Regions from separate parts of the Homo sapiens genome. Here region 1 is linked to region 2. The links are contacts of gene promoters, found by promoter capture Hi-C in blood cells and fetal thymus (Javierre and others, 2016). All regions are on one chromosome and are shown on one strand. Each heading gives the region's core, a stretch centred on a gene start or on the middle of the fragment in contact. The rest is flanking DNA. Distances are from core to core; before and after follow the strand shown.

Region 1 (2,700 bases), core at 115-2,614, 470 kb after region 2:
CCAGAGTAAGCCTTTAGACACTTTTACAGCAATTTGACACAGATCTAATACCACACAATTCTAGGCCCATGTTTGAAACAAGCACGCCACACTGGTTGTGGTTTCACACCAAGCAGTGTTCAGGCATGTTGCCAACCAAATTGGAAGCATGAATGTTGGTTGAGAGGAGTCTTATTTCATTAATGGTTAATTCTGCTCCTGTGCTCCTATCCCCACTCCAATTAAGTATAAAATACACATTTCAAGATTTGATGCCAAACCATAAAGGCTAGAGACAAGCCCTGCCACCCAGCAGTAAATATGAAGGGAAAGATTTAATGTAAACGGCAGCGTATGGCAGTGCTGATGATTTCTCATAAACTACATGGACTAATTTAGAAAGAAAAAAAAAAGTCAGAGAAGCCTTCAAGGAAGTAATAACCCAGAGGTAAAAAATATTGATTAGGGAAAAATATTATCTTAATCAAAATATGTCTTTTAGCTGGAAGTTGTTTGGGCTTCAGAAAGAGAACAAAATATGTTTCTAAGATGCACATTTTTCCTGTGGTTTTTGTTGAATAATGAGCAACGCCATCACTGTTACTGAAGTCTTTGCTGTGTAAATCAAAAGGAAGGCTTTAATAATTCTATAGGAAACCTTATTTATTAGTGTGATCAACAGTAAGCAATATTAACTATTTTTAAAAATCTCAATATATACCCATGAATTTGGGTATATCTTAATGTTAGATCCTGATAAATTTTACAGGGCTTGCCATATACTATATTTTCTTCTAATGAGAGCTTGTTATGTCTGATCTCTTTTTATCTGTCTTTAGAAGCAAATAATTCAAAATAACTTGTTTCTGCTAGCATTTGTTTGGAGCTCAAACAACTTCTTTTTAAACTCCTTTCAAGTTTAAAGCTTGACCTTTTAAACATGAAAATCAAACAATATTTGAATAGGCTACATGTTGTTTTATTTTTAGGAATTTTCTCAATTGAAATCGAATCTGAATCAAAGTAGATAAGAGTTACTTTAAAATTCTAACACCTCCCCAGCTTTTCCTTGATCTTATAATGTATGACTGTTCTTAAAATTTTATATACCCCGAAGTGTCATTATTATTTTCGTTTGCCATTTTGACACCGAGAAGTTTATTCTTAGGAGAAACTGTCGGTGGGAATACAGGATTCCATTCTGCATCCTATACATGGAGCAGCCTAAACTAAATGCTAAGAGACGCTCCAGAGTAACGGGGGGAAAGCAAAATTAGAACATATTTTCTGACTATTCAGTCTGTGTCCAAGTACACAAAGTGAGAAGTTGATAAATTGCCCAATAAATTTAGTCATTATAGCCCAGAAAATTTAGGTGTAATTGATGATCAATGACCCAAATCATTCAGGGACCCAAGTCCCTAGGAACTTCAAATCCCCATTCCATGTATAAATACTGGCTCTCCCTAAGGCCTCCTTCCCTGACCTAGACATTTCCTCACGTTGCTTCTGAACACATTTGCAAAACCTTTGTGTGTGAGAACTATAGTCTTTACTTTTGCATTGAAAGTGCAAGGAAAACTGAAGATTATTTTGAATCCAATCGTTTTTCCCCTCATCAAAATATGCAGTGAGCGCCCCCTGTTGGCTGCCTAGCAGCAGGCAATACACAAACACTCAGCCTTGTTAGTACACAAAGAAGGAAGTAAACAAAAAGAGCCAATGGTAATTTGGACTCCCGTATCTAAGGGGGGTAGAGGTGGGGAAGGAAGGAGAGGAAATCAATATTTGCTTAATGGAAAAGGACAACATTGATAGGGAAGGAAGTTTTATTCCCAAGCTTTTAATGGGGTATTACAAGCACTGGGGAGGAGAAAATTCTCTTTCTTTTCTCTTTCTTTCTTTTTTTTTTTTTTAAGCTTAAAGCTGTATATTTTTTTTTCAGTGTTAGATGAGTAAGAGTTCCTGAAATTATAGTGGGCAGAAAAACCAAACAAATACATTTGCTTTTGCTAAGGGCACACTTGGCTTTTTAGGTTGTGCCTTTCCTCTATTCTACTTAAGTCAAGCACTAAGAAATCTACTGTAAATTCTGGACTTTCCACCATGTTTTCAGGTAGGTGATCTGGGCATTGAAGGGAGGAAAAATGGCTAGGAGAATAATACACAAACATGCACACACATATATTTTCATTCTGATATCCTAAGGATTGAGTCAATAAACATAGATTTCCTTTATATTTACCTGAAGTGTCTTAAATTCTAACCCCTTCTAGTTTACCTGTTAAAATCTAGCTTTACTAATCTACAGGGAAGCATAGATTTTATTTAAAAATCCTGTTTAAAAAGTATGATAGTGGGTTTAAAAGTATAAAGGATATTTTTTCAATCCTGACAATAGAGGAGTAAGATGAATTTCTCTCCAAGAAATCTCTTCTCTGATAGGGCATGGTGGCTCATGCCTGTAATCCCAGCACTTTGGGAGGCTGAGGTGGGTGGATCACTTAAGGCCAGGAGTTTGAGACCAGCCTGGCCATCATGGCGAAACCCCATGTCTGCTAAAACTACAAAAATTAGCCAGGTGAGGTGGCATGTGCCTGTAATTTCAGCTGCTTGGGAGGCTGAGGCACAAGAATCCCAGCTAATTGGGGGGCTGAGGCATGAGAATCACTTGAACCCAGGAGGTGGAGGTTGCAGTGAGCCGAGATCACACCACTGCAC
Region 2 (2,898 bases), core at 98-2,597:
ACAGGCCAAGCAGGGAGTATGCAAACACACTGCTGGGCAAATAGATAAGGCTGGGGGGAAAAGTCTTTGTGAGAATGCTAGCTCCTTCTCCCTTGGATTTCATGATCAGTCACACTGGAGAACCAAGTGTCCTAACCACTGGGCTCTGAGACAGGCCTTCAGATGGAGGGTACCCCGACATCATCAGCTTCATCTCGTTTGCTTTTTATGCAGCTTTTGGGTTTATTGGGTTGTCTGAAGCTCTTCCAGGATCTAGTATGAACATTATGTGGCACATTAGCAGCGTTGAGGGGACAGACCCTCTCTCATGACATGAGGAAAGTTTACTACCCCTGACATACTGAAGTAAATCAACAAGCATGCCAGAGGTTGCCTGGCTTCCGTAGGAATTGGCAGGAGGCCAGGGACCATGGGGCTGACTTGCAATTGGCTTCATTCTAACTCACCCCTTTTCTTTGTTGCTTTTACAAGACTTCTTCATCACCTTCCCATACATTCAAAAATTGGCTTTGTTAAGACTAATTTTGATATCTCTCTCACAGCAATTATGGAAGGAAACTGATCAGTTTCCCTCATTATCCAAGTTTTTCCTTAAGTGAAAAGTAAAAAAAAGCAAAACTGACATTTTATTTTTAAGATGTAACTTTTTTCTTTTTGAAAGAATGCCCCCTGTAATGCAAAGTAACTTCTTCATATAAGGTCATAACATGAGTCATAGTACAGAGATAAAAACAAAATAAAACTTTGGCAATCTAGAGGTAGGAAAAAAATCTTGCTTCTAAAACATAGAAACACCTCCCAACCCTTCTCCTATTCTTGACATTGCTAGTAAACATTATTTATTTGCCTCGAATAGATGCGGTTACATATCACTGTCATGCAAAAGAAATTCAATTCCTTTCCGAGTTCAATCTGCCATAAAAATGCACTCTTGTTCCCATCTCCCACTCACCTGTCCTTGTGCATTAGTAACTAGTTGACCTGTGACCCCCTGAAGACTGGAGAGGGCATTGCCAAAGGCCTGTGAGCTTGCTATGGAGCTCATGGCTGCTGCAGCCGCTGCAGCCTGACTTGCTAGTGGATTATTAACCAGCTGCAAAGAGAGAAAAGATCACCGTGAAAACCACCGAGAGGCACAGGCACAGCACACGGACACAACATTGACTCTGGGGAGGTAGTTCTCGCCTCAATTCGCTCATGCAAAGGGCCTGGAACCCACCGGAGGGGCGTGGCGAACATTCCCCCGGAAGCTCTGGGGTAGGGGGATGATGGAAACGAGGCTGGAAGGAAAATGTTGGGGAGCTTGGTGGAGTCTGGGTTTAGGGCTAGCCCAGGAGGGAACGAGCCTGAACTTCAGGGGTGAGGTGGGCTGTTAGGACCTTCTGGGGTGGAGAAATGATTTCGCAGAAGCCCTCTAGACTAAATAAAACTCAGGAAATATCTGCTTTCCCTGAGGTAACCAGACAGAATAGGAGAGTAAACAGGATGGGGATCGGGGAAAGAGAGGAATAGATTTTTAGGATTTCTAAGAATGAATTTATCATTTCCATTTGTGAATTGCAGTTTCTTTCAGGGACATCGAGCGAGGCAGGTGTTCCACCCCACTTTCTTGTTTGAGGGGAGAAGGAAACCAAAGCCAGTAGAAATGGAATTTATGGCCTCCGTGCTCTCAGAGGGTGAGTCTAGGGCTGCGACAATTTTGGGGCTTTAACCTAAACCACAGGATTCAATGCCAATGAGAAAGGTTGTTCGATGAATGGTCAGATTGACAACTGCTTGCTGTTGTAGCTGATACATGGTCTTTCCTCAGCCTCTTTCCTGGGACAAGAGTGAAACAGGGAGGAAGAAAGAGAGAGTGGGAGAGAGACCTGCCGGGGAGGAGGTTATGGCTGCCAAAATCTGTTTTTCCATGGAGACCAATTCAATATTCTCCTTCCTGCCAATTTTCCACGCCACAGGTTTTCAGGCCTTCTGACCATGAGGCAGAAGTGTGGCTTCAACTAAAATCTGCATTTAGGTTAATGACTAGATATAAATTCAAGAAACATTTAAACTATTTTCACAGTATTGGTTTTGATACATGAATTTCATTTGTATTTATTCTAGGGTGTTATTTTTTTCCCCATATAGTTTCTCTCAAGTACAACAATTGTTGTGTTGGAAATAATGCATTTTCCATCACCAGTTCCCACATCCATGAAATTCCTGCATTTTTTCAGAAACCTGCCACGACTAAGACTAGGTGGAAAAAAATTAATGCCATACCTAATTCAAGTCTTGGAAGCTCTTCTAAAAATGCCACTTTTAAAACTTTCCTTTCTTCATTTTTTGTCTCAGTCTCTCTTCTCTCTCTCTCTTTTCCTTCTTCCCTTCAAATCATATTTTATTTCTTAATTTCTTTGGAAATTTGCCTAGAGATTATACTATCTTATGAAGAAGGAAATATTAATTATCAGAGAAAACATCAAAAAGGACAGGAATTTAATAACTATTTTTTCATTAATGTGGTATCTTTATCTTATCGGTTTCTTTATTCATTTATAACTAAATTTCACACAACTGTTCTTCAGTAATTCTGCTGACCCAGCACATTTTTTAAAAAAAATGAGAATCCATTTTAAGTTGATTACTTTATGTCTTTTGCCTTTATCTCTCTCCTAAAAGACAATAATGATTTTCTTTTTAAGGAGAAAAAAATTCTCACTCATCAGCCTAAAGAGAAACCCTGTCTTATCCCAGATTACCACCATGGGATTTAAAATTCAGGTTGGTCTTGATTTTGATTTTTGGAGTATGTCTTTAAAGGATAGGTGGGGTAACTATGCATCCAGAAGTAACTCTCCTTGTTTGTAGACTACCTAAAGTGAGAAGAGTTCATAATGTGTTCTTTTTTTTTTT

The links. The method cuts DNA at HindIII sites, captures the fragments that hold promoters and counts their contacts. A CHiCAGO score of 5 or more calls a contact.
Region 1: a contact is called between a fragment that was not itself captured here and the fragment with the promoter of POU6F2-AS1 in region 2, in 4 of 17 cell types (M2 macrophages, megakaryocytes, M1 macrophages and 1 more). The highest score is 7.4, in M2 macrophages.

The regions. Positions count from the first base shown.
Region 1 is chr7:38,931,673-38,934,372 of GRCh38, reverse strand. No RefSeq gene overlaps it. Among named protein-coding and RNA genes, the nearest start is that of VPS41, 24 kb to the right of the region's middle. The HindIII fragment of the contact is 915 bases long and covers 907-1,821 here.
Region 2 is chr7:39,404,795-39,407,692 of GRCh38, reverse strand. POU6F2-AS1 (POU6F2 antisense RNA 1) reads left to right here and starts at 1,347. Exons shown (of 4, transcript NR_046711.1): 1 at 1,347-1,359; 2 at 1,574-1,676; 3 at 2,688-2,766. It overlaps POU6F2 (POU class 6 homeobox 2), which reads right to left. Exons shown (of 10, transcript NM_001370959.1): 6 at 953-1,093. The HindIII fragment of the contact is 9,360 bases long and covers 1-2,898 here.